4 separate regions of the Homo sapiens genome follow, and all the other regions are linked to region 4. The links are contacts of gene promoters, found by promoter capture Hi-C in blood cells and fetal thymus (Javierre and others, 2016). All regions are on one chromosome and are shown on one strand. Each heading gives the region's core, a stretch centred on a gene start or on the middle of the fragment in contact. The rest is flanking DNA. Distances are from core to core; before and after follow the strand shown.

Region 1 (3,693 bases), core at 875-3,374, 2.5 Mb after region 4:
AATCCCAGCACTTTGGGAGGCTGAGGCGGGCGGATCACCTGAGTTTGGGAGTTCGAGGCCAGCCTGACCTACACAGAGAAACCCTGTTTCTACTCAAAATACAAAATTAGCCAGGTGTGGTGGCTCACACCTGTAATCCCAGCTACTCGGGAGGCTGAGGCAGGAGAATCACTTGAACCTGGGAGGCGGAGGTTGTGGTGAGCCGAGATGGCGCCATTGCACTCCAGCCTGGGCAACAAGAGCGAAAGTCCACCTCAAAAAAAATAAAATAAAATAAAATAAAATAAAAAAAGAGGGAAAAAGGAAAAAAAAAGACTCCCTGATGTGCCACTGACTTCCTGTACATGTTTAGGTAAACTTAATATCACCTCTCTTTCCACCATTTTCCCATTTATAAAGTGGGAAGACTGGATTTGATGACATCACAGCCTCATCCAGGTCTGGTGCCTTCCTTATAACCTGCGTCTCTTCTTTATTCTTTTTTTTTTTTTTTTTTTTTTGAGACGGAGTTTTGCTCTGTCACCCAGGCTGGAGTGTGCAGTGATGCAATCTCGGCTCACTACAACCTCCGCCTCCTGGGTTCAAGCAATTCTCCTGCCTCAGCCTCCCGAGTAGCTGGGATTACAGGCGCCCGCCACCATGCCCGGCTAATTTTTGTATTTTTAGTAGAGACGGGGTTTTACCATGTTGTCCAGGCTGGTCTCGAACTTCTGACTTCGTGATCCACCTGCCTCAGCCTCCCAAAGTGCTAGGATCACAGGTGTGAGCCAGCACCCCCGGCTTATTCCTTTTTTAAAATTGTTATTATTTCCCACAGCCACATATGCCGGGGAGGTTGTCCCACATATGTTCTACCAAGGCCCCTCTGGCACTGAGATCAAACCCCGGAAGACCCGCTCAGTCTCTCCTCCCGTCTTTTCAACACGTTAGCGCCCCCAGGTGGCTAATTAGACTTCAAAATTCAGTTCTTGAGGCGGGCGGATCACTTGAGGTCAGGAGTTCAAGACCAGTCTGGTCAACATGGTGAAACCCCGTCTCTACTAAAAATACAAACATTAGCCGGACATGGTGGTACGCACCTGTAATCCCAGCTATTCGGGAGGCCGAGGCAGGTGGATCACTTGAGGTCAGGAGTTCGAGACCACCCTGGCCAATTTGGCAAAACTCCATCTCTACTAAAAATACAAAAATTAGCTGGGCGTGATGGCGCACACCTGTAATCCCAGCTACTCAGGAGACTGAGGCACGAGAATCACTTGAACCCGGGAGGCGGATGTTGCAGTGAACCGAGATCACGCCACTGCACTCCAGCCTGGGTGGAGTGAGATCTTCTCTCAAAAAAAAGAAAGAAAGAAAGAAAGAAAAAGTCGTGCTTGATTATGCTTGATGGCAAAAAGGTGAGACCTTCCTTTCGGCACTGAGTCTGGTAGAAATCGGTGTTACAGGGTAGCTAACATTTATTGAACACTTACTACGGGCCAGTTACTGCTTTAAATGTTTTATGTGTATTACCCACTGACTCCTACAACAATCCTATGAAGTGGGTTTTATCAGTGCATCCATTTTACCGTCAAGGCAAGAGAGAGTTGGGGAAGGGCGCTTTCTGAATGCTGCTACCGTGTCCAGAGTTGGTTCCTTCCTGTGGGTTTGTGGTCTCGCTGACTTTAAGAATGGAGCCAGGGACCTTCGTGGTGAGTGTTACAGCGCTTAAAGATGGCACGGACCTAAAGAGTTAGCAGCAGCAAGATTTATTGTGTAGAGCAAGAGAACAAAGCTCCCACAACGTGGAAGCAGACTCTGGTGGGGTGCCGCGCTCGCCAGCTTTTATTCCCTTATTGTCCCCGCCCGTGTCCTGCTGATTGGTCCATTTTACAGAGCGCTGATTGGTCCATCTTACAGAGTGCTGATTGGTCCATTTTACAATCCTCTTGTAAGACAGAAAAGTTCTCCAGGTCCCCATTCAACCCAGGAAGTCCAGCTGGCTTCACGTCTCACTACTACCTTTCTGTAGCTGCTACTACTACAGTGAGTAGACGGCAGTGCTGGGATTCGAACCCTCTGTCTTCTGGCTTGGAAGTCTTAACCACTAATCGCGTCTTCCTTTCAGCTACTCCTTGGGAAAGGCCTGGAAAGAAGCTACAGCACAGGGCACAGCGGGGTCTAAGGACCGTTCCGCGGAGCTCAGCCAGCAGGACTGTGGGGCTGCAGGAAAGGACAGTCCAGCCCAGGGTCCCAGCTTCTCCGCCACTCAGGTTGGAAGTCTCGGGCTGCAGTGCTCCTGGGGCTCAGGGGCGGATACCAGCAGGAGCGCGGTTCTGACTGCGCCAGTCAAAAGTGACCAGCGCGCCCAGGGAGATGAGGACCAGCCCGGCCAGCCCCAGGCGGACTAGGTTCCCCCGGGTGTAGTCGGAGGAGCCAGAGTCTGCGGGCGGAGCCGGGAGAGAGGGGCCATCAGCTCCCGGACCCCAAAGTCTGGGCCCTGAACTCCAGGTTTCCAGCCCCTGGGGTGGACTTAGGGACCTGACTCTACAGTCTCAAAGTTGAGGGGGAGTCGATGGAGGCTTCAACTCCTGGGTCCAGGAAGAAGGGGCTGGGGCCTGGACTGCTGGATCAGGAAGGAGGGGCTGGGGGCCTGGAGTCCTGGGTCCAGGAAGGAGGGGCTGGGGGCCTGGAGTCCTGGGTCTGAGGGAGGAGGTACTGGGGCCCGGGAATCCTGGGTCTGAGGGAGGAGGAGCTGGAGGACTAGACTCCTGGATCTGAGGGAGGAGGGGCTGGGTCCCAGGAATCCTGGGTCTGAGGGAGGAGGGGCTGCAGGACTAGACCCCTGGGTCTGAAGGAGGAGAGGCTGGGGGCCTGGGCTCCTGGGTCTGAGGGCGGAGGTCCTGGGGCCTGCATTCCTGGGGCGGAGGAGGCGGGCCGGGCCTCAGGGCCCTCACCTTCCCAGCTGATGACCAGCACCTCGCTGCGCTGCGACAGCACGTAGGGCGCGGAGGGCGTGTGATAGTAGCAGCTGTAGGTGCCGGGGGCGCGGGCGCCCAGCAGCGTGAAGTCGGCCCAGGGCTGCGCGGAGTGGCGGTACTGCAGCGGGGCCGCCACGCCCTCGCGGTACAGCACGAAGCTCATGTTCCGCAGGCGGCCCGCGCAGCGCAGGCTCACGTTGGCGCCAGGACCCACCACCGGCCCGGGCAGCGCCACCAGCGACGGCCGCGGCAGCTCCTCTGCAGAGACGGGGTGAGAGTCCGGGGCCGCGTGAGCGTCTTCCGCTCGCTCGCTCGCTCTGTTTCTCCTTCTCCTCTGTCTCTCGCTTTCTCTGTGCCTCTCTCTCTCTTTCTGCCTCTCTTTCTCTCTGCCTGTCTCTCTCTCTGTCTGCCTCTCTCTCTGCCTCCCTCTCTCTCTGCCTCCCTCTCTCTGCCTCCCTCTCTCTCTGCCTCCCTCTCTCTCTGCCTCCCTCTCTCTCTGCCTCCCTCTCTCTCTGCCTCCCTCTCTCTCTGCCTCCCTCTCTCTCTGCCTGCCTCTCTCTCTGCCTGCCTCTCTCTCTGCCTCCCTCTCTCTGCCTCCCTCTCTCTCTGCCTCCCTCTCTCTCTGCCTCCCTCTCTCTCTGCCTCCCTCTCTCTCTGCCTCCCTCTCTCTCTGCCTGCCTCTCTCTCTGCCTCCCTCTCTCTCTGCCTCCCTCTCTCTCTGCCTCCCTCTCTC
Region 2 (3,480 bases), core at 459-2,958, 2.6 Mb after region 4:
GAAAACTTATGGAAGTTTTTTCCTTCCACGTTTCCCCCTTCCAGATGAATAATATACGCGTGTTCAAGATACAAAAATGCATAAAATTTGGCCAGGCATGGTGGCTTACACCTGTAATCCCAGCACTTGGGGAGGCTGAGGCGAGTGGATCACTTGAGCCCAGGAGTTCAAGACCAGCCTGGGCAATATGGCAAAACCCCGTCTCAAAACAACAAAACAAACAAACAAAAAACCCATAAAACTGAACAAGGTAGTTTGTAAGATATGGAAGTACAATGCAGATGACAATAATGACGATGGTAGCTACCACTAGGCGCTTTATTTATGCCACTCTCCTCAACACTGGATAGACTCTCACTTAATCCTCACAAGCTTATGAGGTAGGCGCTACCATCATTCGCCGTTTTACAGAGGAGGACGCTGAGGCACAGAGTGATTGAGAAACTTGTCGAAGGCACTGCAGCTGGCAAGTGGTGACGTGGCATTTGAATCCAGGCATCCGGATGGTGTGGATGCCGTGGAAGAGAAAGGGGCGGGTGGGACTGCTTCCTGAGGAGATAGTGACTGCCGAGGCAGCAGCGTAGGGAAGACAACTGAAGAACACGAGCTGTGGAGACAGACCATCGCATTCGGAGTGGAGAGATGGGTGTACAGACAGACAATAACCAGACTATATATAAAAAGAGAACTCTAGGTCAGGCGCGGTGGCTCACACCTGTAATCTTAGCACTTTGGGAGGCTGAGGCGGGTGGATCACTTGAGGTCAGGCGTTGGAGACCAGGAGTTCAAAACCCCGTCTCTACTAAAAATTTAAAAATTAGCCGGGCATGGTGGTGGGCGCCTGTAGTCCCAGCTTCTCGGGAGGCTGAGGCACGAGAATCGATTGAACCCGGGAAGCGGAGGTTGCAGTGAGCCGAGATCGCACCACTGCACTCCAGCCTGGGTGACGAGAGCGAAAAACTCCGTCTCAAAAATAAAATAAATTACTGATAATAGTACTAATACCCCTTAAGTGGCTATTGATAATAATAGTACCATGGGTGGGGGGGCAACTTCTCTGAGAGTGCTCTGTAAGTATGTATTGAAGATTGAGTAAATACATTTAAAATTCTTAGAACAGTATGTGGCACATAGCGTTCCAGAATGCCACATTATTGTTAGTGACAGAAATAATCTCGGCTGGGCGCGGTGGCTCACGCCTGTAATCCCAGCACTTTGGGGGGGCCACGGCGGGAGGCTCTCTCGAGGCCGGGAGTTCAAGACCAGCCTGGGCAACATGGCAAGACGCCGACTGTTAAAAAAAAAAAATGCTACCCGGGCGTCGTGGCGTGTGCCTGTAATCCCAGCTACTGGGGAGGAGGTGGGAGGATCGCTCGAGCCCGAGAGGTTGGTCGGGGCCTCAGTGAGCCGAAATCACGCCACTGCACTCCAGCCTGGGCGACGGAGCGAGACCCTGTCTCAGAAAGAAAAAGAAAAACCACCGTCCAGGGGCGGAGAAGGAAGGTTCTCCCTACTTCTCAGGTTTCCACTCCCTGGCCGGAAAAAACCTAGTCCTCCCAGGTTAGCACGCCGCTCTAGCCCAGCCTCACGTCTCCACTGCTTCTCAGCCAGCCAACGCCTCTTCTGATTGGCTCTGACGTGCGTGGTGCGTGAAAACGTCACGAGACGCCGGCGTTACTATAAGAGCGCAGCCGTGGCGCTTCCGCGCCTCTTTCTCAGTGACCGGGTGGTTTGCTTAGGTGAGGTGCGGTGGTGTGCTTTTTCTCTAGGGTTTGGGTTGGATGGTGGCCCGGGCCTTCCGAGTTTCCATGAGTAAGCTAAAGACGTTAGGAAACAGAGCAGGGTGGTTGAACGGGAGTGCAGCACGGTTGTGGGGGCAGATACTGACTATGAGAGCGTTGGAGGTTATTCTCGCGAGATCGGATCTGGGCTCCGCGAGGTTTTGGCGTAGTTGTGGGACTGCGCAGGCGCCGTTTGGATCCCTTACGCTCACACTTCTCTCCCGCGCAGGCGCAGACGGGGAAGCGGAGCCAACATGCCAGTGGCCCGGAGCTGGGTTTGTCGCAAAACTTATGTGACCCCGCGGAGACCCTTCGAGAAATCTCGTCTCGACCAAGAGCTGAAGCTGATCGGTGAGTGGCCAAGGCTTCCGGGAAGTGGTTCGGCTTCCGGGAGGCGGTTAGCACGTGGATGAAGGTGCCCATGTACTCTATCTAGTCCGTCCCCTAAATTTGGTACTATTCGTGGTTTAGGAAGGTTTTGTGATTCCAAAGCTGCCAGTCTAGTTGTTGTGCCAGTACGTGGGACTACACTTGTCCACCCCCTTCTCCCCACCAGGCGAGTATGGGCTCCGGAACAAACGTGAGGTCTGGAGGGTCAAATTTACCCTGGCCAAGATCCGCAAGGCCGCCCGGGAACTGCTGACGCTTGATGAGAAGGACCCACGGCGTCTGTTCGAAGGTGCGTATGGGAGTCCACAGCAGAGGGATGGGGTGCAGGGCTTGTGAGGTTCATTCTCCCTTCTGTTGCCTCTGTTCCAGTGATGAGAGTTGTGTCATTGGATAAATGGAACCAGCCTTCTAACTTTTAGTGGCACTTGTGGAGTAGGAAAAGTGTATCTGGATCAGTCTTTGCCCTGTTTCTTAGGTGTGTGGCTTTTTTGCCCAGTTATTGGACCTTCAGTTTAGTAATGACCAGAGCTAAAGATAGGCCTGGCACACCTGGGCACCCGTCTATATCTTTATATTCTGTTTATGTGGCCTGTTTGCTAGTGGATGAGAGTAGACTATGAAGTGGAATTTCTGGGCTAAGTGATGGTGATAACAGGGTTTGCACATTTGCTTGGTTTATTGTTTTTTTAATTAAGTTTTCTCGTTTTATTTAGTCTTTTGAGACGGAGTCTTGCTCTGTTGCCCAGGCTGGAGTGCCGTGGCGCCATTTCGGCTTACTGCAACCCCCGCCTCCTGGGTTCAAACAATTCTCCTATCTTAGCCTCCCAAGTAGCTGGGACTACAGACAGGCGCACGCCACCACACCTGGCTAATTTTACTTTTGAGACGGAGTCTCGCTCCATTGCCCATGCTGGAGTGTAGTTGTCGCAATCTTGGCTCACTGCAAACTCCGCCTCCAGAGTTCAAGCGATTCTCCTGTCTTAGCCTCCTAAGTAGCTGGAATCACAGGCATGGGCCACCAAGCCTGGCTAATTTTCTATTATTAGTGGAGATGGGTTTTCACCATGTTGTCCAGGCTGGTGCTTGTTTTTTTAAGCTGGTCAAGGACATTTAGGTGGTATTTAGCAAAGGCCTGAACAGGAGAGAACCTGTAAAATGTCTCAGGGAACAGCATTTCAGGTGATGACTTTAGGAGGGCATGCAGATCACATAGACTTAGGCTTACTTTACTAATTGTGGTGAAATACACATTAAATTGAAAATGTACCATCTTAACCATCTTGTTTTAAAATCTACTCTGAGATGCGGT
Region 3 (3,700 bases), core at 1,025-3,524, 2.3 Mb after region 4:
ACAGAGACACAGGGAGAGAGGGAGAGACCTCAGAGATGGAGAGAGACTCACAGGGCCAGATAGACACATGGAGTGGGTCAGAGAAGGGGACAGAGAGAGAGACACAGAAAAGGGAAGAGGGAGAGAGACTGAATCACAGAGACACAGAGAGGGAAGTCTCTATCTAGAGACCCTCGACAGAGATTCCTAGAGCCAGAGACAGAGATTCAGAGAGCCAGAGACACAGAGAGATTCATAGAGACATATAGAGAGATTCAGAGAGCCTGAATCACAGAGATTCACAGAGCCAACGAGACAAACAGAGAGATTCATAGAGCCAGAGACACAGATTCGGAGAGTCAGAGAGACATAGAAAGATTCATAGAGCCAGAGACACAGAGATTCAGAGAGTCAGAGAGACATAGAGAGACATTCATAGAGCCAGAGACACAGAGAGATTCATAGACATATAGAGAGATTCAGAGAGCCTGAATCACAGAGATTCACAGAGCCAAAGAGACAAACAGAGAGATTCATAGAGCCAGAGACACAGAGGGATTCGGAGAGTCAGAGAGACATAGAAAGAGATTCATAGAGCCAGAGACACAGAGATTCATAGAGACATAGAGATTCATAGAGCCAGAGACACAGAGATTCAGAGAGTCAGAGAGACATAGAAAGACATTCATAGAGCCAGAGACACAGAGAGATTCAGAGTCAGAGAAACATAGAGATTCATAGAGCCAGAGACACAGAGAGATTCAGAGTCAGAGAGACATAGAGAGACATTCATAGAGCCGGAGACACAGAGAGATTCAGAGTCAGAGAGACATAGATTTATAGAGCCAGAGACACAGATTCAGGGAGTCAGAGAGACATAGAGAGACATTCATAGAGCCGGAGACACAGATTCAGAGTCAGAGAGACATAGACATTCATAGAGCCAGAGACACAGATTCAGAGAGTCAGAGAGATGAATAGATTCAGAGAGCCAGAGACACAGGGAGAGTGAATCACAGACACAGAGGGACGGGGAGATCCCCAGAAACAGAAAGAGATTCATAGAGCCAGAGAGACAAATAGAGATTGGGTCAGAGAGAAAGGGACAGAGACAGAGACAGAGAAGAGAAGAGGGAGAGAGATTGGGTCAGAGAGAAAGGGACAGAGACAGAGAAGAGAAGAGGGAGAGAGAGACTGAGTCATAGACAGGAGAGAGACCCCCCTAGCATCAGAGAGAGAGAGAGAGATCAACAGAGCCAGAGAGGGACAAGTACAGAGAAACAGATGGAACCAGAGAGATATAGGAAGAGACAAACAAAAACAGAGACGGAGTTGCAGAACCGGAGGAAGGGAGAGAGACAGAGACAAAGGCATTTATAAAGACGGGTGGAGGTGAGGAGAGAGAGGGAGAGACAGGGGCAAGCATTTAGAGAGTGACTCCCAGAGAGGAAGACAGAGACGGACTCCCAAAGAGATCAAGTTGCAGAGGGAGGGGGAGACAGAGTCACAGCCTGAGAGAGAATAGAGATTCACAGAGCCAGAGAGACAAAGACAGGGAAAGAAACAAACTCAGGGAGACAGAGGCGGAAGAATTTATCAGACGTAGAGGGAGAGACAGAGGGAGACTGATTCACAGTGAGGCAGACCAAGACCCCGAGAAGAACCACGACACCAAGACCCAGAGATGGCGACAGATACAGATGGAGACACACAGCAGAGGAAATAGAGAAATAGAAAGAAATAGAAACAGCATTTCTCGGAGACAGGGAAAAGAAAACAGATCCACTGAGAGGCAGAAACAGAGACACATCGAGAAAGCTCGCTCCAGGAATAGAGGGAGAGGGACAGAGGTCACAAGAAAGACACACGCAGGCAGAGAGCTACACAAATAATGGAGAGGCCAGGGGAGGAAATAAAGACTCAGCCGGCATCGGAGAAAGTGAGAACCTTAGCGCCCTGCCTGTCCACTGCTGGACCCCTAGCGTGGAGCATAAAGTTTGTTGAAGGAAGGAGAGGGGCAGGGTCAGACACAGGGACCCCAGGGCGCCCACAGGACACACGAGGCACCCTAGTGGGGGAGGAACGCGGGGCAGGATGACAGATTGCAGGGTGGTGGGGGGGAGCCAGGCTCAGAGGATGCCCCTCCCTCCAGCCAGCCCCCGGAGTGGGTGTGTGCACGTGTGGGGGGCGGGGAGGGAGGACATTTGTCCCGTGTCTCCGGGAGGGGAGCGCCTTTAAGCCGAAACCCCGCCCTCTCGGTCGTCCTGGCAACGCCTCCCCCAACCCGGGGCTCCCACATTTCAGCAGGTGCCGGAGCTGGAGCTCCCACCGCCGCCGCCCGTGCCTCCGGCTGCCGGCGCCCCTGCCTTTGGCTCTTCCTCCCCACTCGCCCGCTCCCCCTGGCGGAGCCGGCGCGCCCGGGGTGCCGCTCCCTGCCTGGCGCGCTCCGCACCTGGAGGTGCCTTGCCCCTCTCCTGCCCACCTCGGAATTTCCCTGTGGCTCCTTTGATCCTTCGAGTCTCCAGCTCCTCTCCCTTCCACCTGTTTCCCCCAAGAAAGGCAGGATCCTGGTCCCTGCTACGTTTCTGGGGCCATGGCTGGTCTGGGCCCCGGCGTAGGCGATTCAGAGGGGGGACCCCGGCCCCTGTTTTGCAGAAAGGGGGCCCTGAGGCAGAAGGTGGTCCACGAAGTCAAGAGCCACAAGTTCACCGCTCGCTTCTTCAAGCAGCCCACCTTCTGCAGCCACTGCACCGACTTCATCTGGTGAGGGAAGGGGGCTGGGGGACTGGGGGACGAGGGGACTAGGGGTGCAGACTCCTATCACGCCGACCCCTGTGGAAGGAAGAAGGAGGGGGCTGTAGTCCCGACTCCCAGGTTCTAGGATGGCCAGGGAACGCTGGGAGCTTCGACTCCTGGGTTTCAGTGAGGAGGAGGCTGGTTCCTGGAGTGCTGGGTCCGAGGGAGGAGGAGGCTGGAGGACAGAGGTCCTGGAGTCTTGGGTCTGAGGGAGGAAGGGCCTGGGGGGCTGGGAGCCTGGATTCCTGGGTCTGAAGGAGGAAGAAACTGGGGGCTGAACTCCAGTCTAAGGGAAGAAGGGCTGGGGGCCAAAATTTCTGGGTTCTAGAAAGAGGAGGTGGCCGGGGCTTGGACACCTGGGCCCTGCGGGAGGAGGGTCAGAGAGCGCAGGCCCCCTGTGGCTCGCAGAGGTTGGGGGTCCAGGTACCCCTTTCTGCACTGACCTAGGATCCCTGACTCTTCCAGGGGTATCGGAAAGCAGGGCCTGCAATGTCAAGGTAAGAGCTGGGGACCGGGGCTCCTGGGACCCTCAGGAGGGTGGAGGCTGGGGCCCCACAGCTGAGGCTGCTTGACACACGTGTTCTCTGGTCCCCAGAGAGGCGCGGGGGAGCCCGGGGCGGGGGGTGTGGCAGAGACACAGCCTGTGGTGGGGAGGGAGCTTTGATGGTGGGGCCACCGCGGAGGTGGTGCTGGGGGCCCCTCCCTCGGCCGGCTCCAGGTGGGGACAGATATTTGGAGAATCTGTTGCCATGGGAACATGGAGATTTGGAAAAGGGGAGCTGAAGGGGGGAAGGGGGAGGGGGCTGGAGATGCAAAGTCAGAGCCCCCCCCCACCCCAGGCTGCCGTCGCCATGACAACACCAGCCGTCCTAGGCAGGGGCAGGCCGGGTGGGGTCACCAATGGGCGAGTGGGGGCCGGGCGGGG
Region 4 (3,406 bases), core at 265-2,764:
GCTTCCAGATAAGATACCCCTCAGCTTTGCACTGGGTCTCCTGAGGCTTGGAAGTTATGTCCACAGTGAGGTTGGTGTAGAGGGGCAGCCACTCTTTGGAGAGCAACCTGTAGCCCAGACAGTTGATGCCATCATCAGAGGATCCAGGGATCGGAGGATTGGCGGATCCGGGACAGAAGGCGAGGCCTGGAGGATGGGGAGGGGCAGCCATGTGAGCCTCAGGGAGGACCCAGAACCAACCACCCCACTTCCAACACTGATTCACCTCCAGGGCCTCTGCTTGTGGCCAGGATCTTCCCCCTCCAGCATATGGTAGCCTCTGAAAAGCAGGTGGGGCTGGGAGAGGAGCATCCCGCTTAGTTTCACCCTTCCAGAGACACAGGAAGGCATGGAGGCCAAACACCTGTCTCTGACAGGGTCCCCATGCCACAGCCCAGCCCTCCAGTCCAGGGTAGCCCATGTCCCCCTCAGCCCAGGGCGGCCCATACCTGCCTCATCATGTCAGGACCTGCAGCTCCTGCCTCCCACCTGGCAGTGATGTCATCCTCATCATCCCAACCCCACTACACGTTGGAGAAGCCATTTATCTTCAGGTAGTGAGTGGGGTGCAGGGCAAACACCCCTCCAAGGCACAAGCTAACGGCTTAATTGCTGTTGTTTCCCCATGTTCTGGCTTGCAGCACTTGTAACCTCTGGGCTCCTGCAGCCCTTAACATCTGATACCTTTACATTAAGATTTATCATCCTTATCTCTGGACCAGGCTGAATACACCTGTGTCCCGGTGCATCTGGCCAGCGGGTCAAAGGGCCTAGCACACAGATTAACAAATGAATGAGTTCCAGTTACCAAAGTTCAATCCTTGAGGTGGACAGAAGACGCCCAAGGCGTGTCTCCCATCACCCTTCACTCTCAATCCTCCTTATCAAGGGCCTCACGGGAATAGTGATAAGATCTCAGAATATACAGGAGGGAGCAGTTTCGGGAAGGGGGGCATTGGAAGGAAGTGGAGGGCTTGGATCTGGGGAGCAAGCGGGGAGAGTGCTCCGTTCCTTGGTTTTGGGATCTTGCCTTACGGGTCTCACCTGCCCTCCATCCTGGCTTCCACCTGGCAGGGTGTGTTTGTGTCAGAAAGACGATTGTGCGTAACTGTTCACCGCGTCCACGTCCCGAGAGTTGCGCACGCGTGGAGATCTGCAAAACGCTCCCTTTCAGCTCCGCGCATGCACAGAGACCCCACCCCGCAAGTCCTTGCCCTTCGGCCTGGGCAGGCGTCCACTCCCATGGCTGCAGGGCGCGCCGAAGAGCCCACTCTGCATCCCCGAGACGCGGCCCAATCCTAGGAATGTGCTTAGCGCAGGTGCTATCTTCCCTTTTCACATTCCCAATCTCTTTCTCCGCCCCCTCAAACTCTTGCCATACTCCCACAACAGCAGAAAATCTGAAAAAAAAGTCCATCCCATCTTTGCACTGACAGCAGTGCACAGCAGCTGGCAGAGAATTCTGGCACGGCTATTGTGCTTGCGCAGGCGCAGACGGGAAGCGGGCCGGACCGGCCTAGTACACTCTGGGAGGCGTGCGCAGAATGCGCAGCGCTGCCGCGAGGATCTCTGGGAACTGTAGGCCCAGTTTGTCCGAGAGCCGCAAGTGTTTCGGGACGACGCAACGCAGGGGCACCTGGGAGTCGTAGGCGGATGGGCCCAAAGCCTTCCGGGAGTCGTAGTCCTTCCGCCCGCTCCTCGTTTCTTTGGAGGTTGGCCCTTCCAGCTCCAGTTCTGCCCAGGTGAGCGCCCATCCCGCGGCCGGCCGGTCCTGGCCCTTTGTCGCGATGACGTGGCGGAGTTGAGGGTCTCTGTATTTCTCTCCCCCGCGTTCTGGTAGGCGTCCCTGGAAAGATGGCACCCTTTTCCGTGATCTCTCAATCCCTCTCTCCGGGTGGGAGTGCTCTAAGCAGCTGTTGTACCTGCTGACCCGCTTTGGATTCTGCGGCCCAGCCTGACACCTTCTCACTCTCGCCCTTCAACCTGGGTGCAGTGCGAGTGCACCCTCCTCTGTCCTGGTTACAACACAGAGTGGTCAGGGCTGGCCCAGGGGGTGCTCAGGAGGCTGTGGGAACACAGAGGAGGTGCTAGACCCAGCCCAGGGTTCAGGAAAGACCTTACAGAGCAAAGGACCTCAAATCTACCACATCCAAACGAAATCCCAGATTCCCTGTCCTAAACCTGCTCCTCTCACAATCTTTCTGCCTCCTCCCCACTAACTGTCCATCCAAGTGCTCAAGCCAAAATCTTGGAATGGTCGCCAGTGTTCTGTTTCTCTCATCCGCTTCCCTCCCGCAACCAAATCTTGTGTGAGTCTCATCGTCTCTATCTCCAGAAGAGGCCCAGAATCTAACCACTTCTCTCCACTTCCACTGTCTCCATTCTGCTCCGAGCTACCGTTACTCCTCACCTGCATCACTGCAGGGGCCTCCTCACTGTTCTGTTTCTTCCCTTGCCACACTCCACCCTCTATTCAGGCACAGTGCCAGGAAGCCTGTGGAAATATAAATCAGATCCTGTCACCAGTCACTACCCTGCCCCCCAGCTTAAAATCATCCAGTGGTTCCCATCTCAGAATAAAATCCAAGCTCCTTATCCTGCCAACCTCTAAGCTTCTGGTCCTTTCTGGTCGTCCTCAGTCACAACACACTTTCCAATGGGCTGAACACAGCCAGGCCCTGCCCTTCATGTCCTTTGCATTTGCTATTAACTCAATTTGGAGCATTCTTCCCACCCTGACCCAATATCTGTCTACTCATTTTGTTGGCCTCAGCTCAAAGGCCTCCAGCCACCCTAAAGAACCCCCTCCCTGTTCCCCCCCCCCCAGTCATACCACCAAAGATAATTCCCTCGTATTTGGAAAGCATCTTAGTCATTTACTTCCTTATCCATGGCCTGGTTCCTCCATTAGAACATCAGTGCCCTGACAGCTGCAACCTTTCCTATCTTGCTCACTGCTGTGTCCCAGTACCTAGAGCATGCTGGGTACATAGGCGGCACTCAGTGGGTATTTGTTAAATGAATGAATGAAAGTTTGAGCTGAGACTTGAAGGTAAGAGTTAGGTCTACCACAGTGTTTAGGGAAGTGTCTTGCGCAATGAGATCAGCCTGGCCAAAGATGCAAGGGGTTGAAAAACCAATGGGAAGTTCATCTGGCTGAGGTGAGTAGGTAACTAAAACAGGGATGCAACTGGATCTGATAAGGACCTCAGGAAGTGAACCCCAGTACTAGGTGACTGCAGATTCAGAGGTTGAAAAAGCTGAGTTGTCTTCCATAGAGAAGCTGGGTGAAAGGTGGTGTTGCTTCCGGGAGACGGGGAGCTTGGTTAGGTAAGTTTCTGCCTTGGGGTGTGAGAGCTGGTCAGTT

Evidence for each region. Contacts are between HindIII fragments. The CHiCAGO score rates a contact against its expected background, and 5 or more counts as called.
Region 1: a fragment that was not itself captured here is called in contact with the fragment with the promoter of LINC01530 in region 4 in 1 of 17 cell types (total CD8 T cells); the score reaches 5.8 in total CD8 T cells.
Region 2: a contact is called between the fragment with the promoter of RPS9 here and the fragment with the promoter of LINC01530 in region 4, in 3 of 17 cell types (activated CD4 T cells, total CD4 T cells and naive CD8 T cells). The highest score is 6.1, in activated CD4 T cells.
Region 3: a contact is called between the fragment with the promoter of PRKCG here and the fragment with the promoter of LINC01530 in region 4, in 1 of 17 cell types (naive CD8 T cells). The highest score is 5.8, in naive CD8 T cells.

Annotation. Positions count from the first base shown.
Region 1 is chr19:54,092,936-54,096,628 of GRCh38, forward strand. It overlaps OSCAR (osteoclast associated Ig-like receptor), which reads right to left. Exons shown (of 5, transcript NM_133169.6): 4 at 2,937-3,218; 5 at 1,733-2,422. The coding sequence ends at 2,286. Among named protein-coding and RNA genes, the nearest start is that of OSCAR, 6.0 kb to the right of the region's middle. The HindIII fragment of the contact is 5,004 bases long and covers 1-3,693 here.
Region 2 is chr19:54,199,150-54,202,629 of GRCh38, forward strand. It overlaps RPS9 (ribosomal protein S9), which reads left to right and starts at 1,709. Exons shown (of 5, transcript NM_001013.4): 1 at 1,709-1,739; 2 at 2,011-2,132; 3 at 2,338-2,460. The coding sequence starts at 2,036. RefSeq lists an enhancer at 1,097-1,766 and a silencer at 1,529-2,022. The HindIII fragment of the contact is 3,345 bases long and covers 371-3,480 here.
Region 3 is chr19:53,879,923-53,883,622 of GRCh38, forward strand. It overlaps PRKCG (protein kinase C gamma), which reads left to right and starts at 2,275. Exons shown (of 18, transcript NM_002739.5): 1 at 2,275-2,742; 2 at 3,241-3,272. The coding sequence starts at 2,573. RefSeq lists an enhancer at 2,727-3,278. The HindIII fragment of the contact is 17,886 bases long and covers 1-3,700 here.
Region 4 is chr19:51,592,866-51,596,271 of GRCh38, forward strand. LINC01530 (long intergenic non-protein coding RNA 1530) reads right to left here and starts at 1,515. Exons shown (of 2, transcript NR_034159.1): 1 at 1,084-1,515; 2 at 1-186. RefSeq lists enhancers at 1-594, 595-1,230, 1,231-1,866, 1,613-1,922, 2,133-2,182 and a silencer at 2,265-2,432. The HindIII fragment of the contact is 8,842 bases long and covers 1-2,649 here.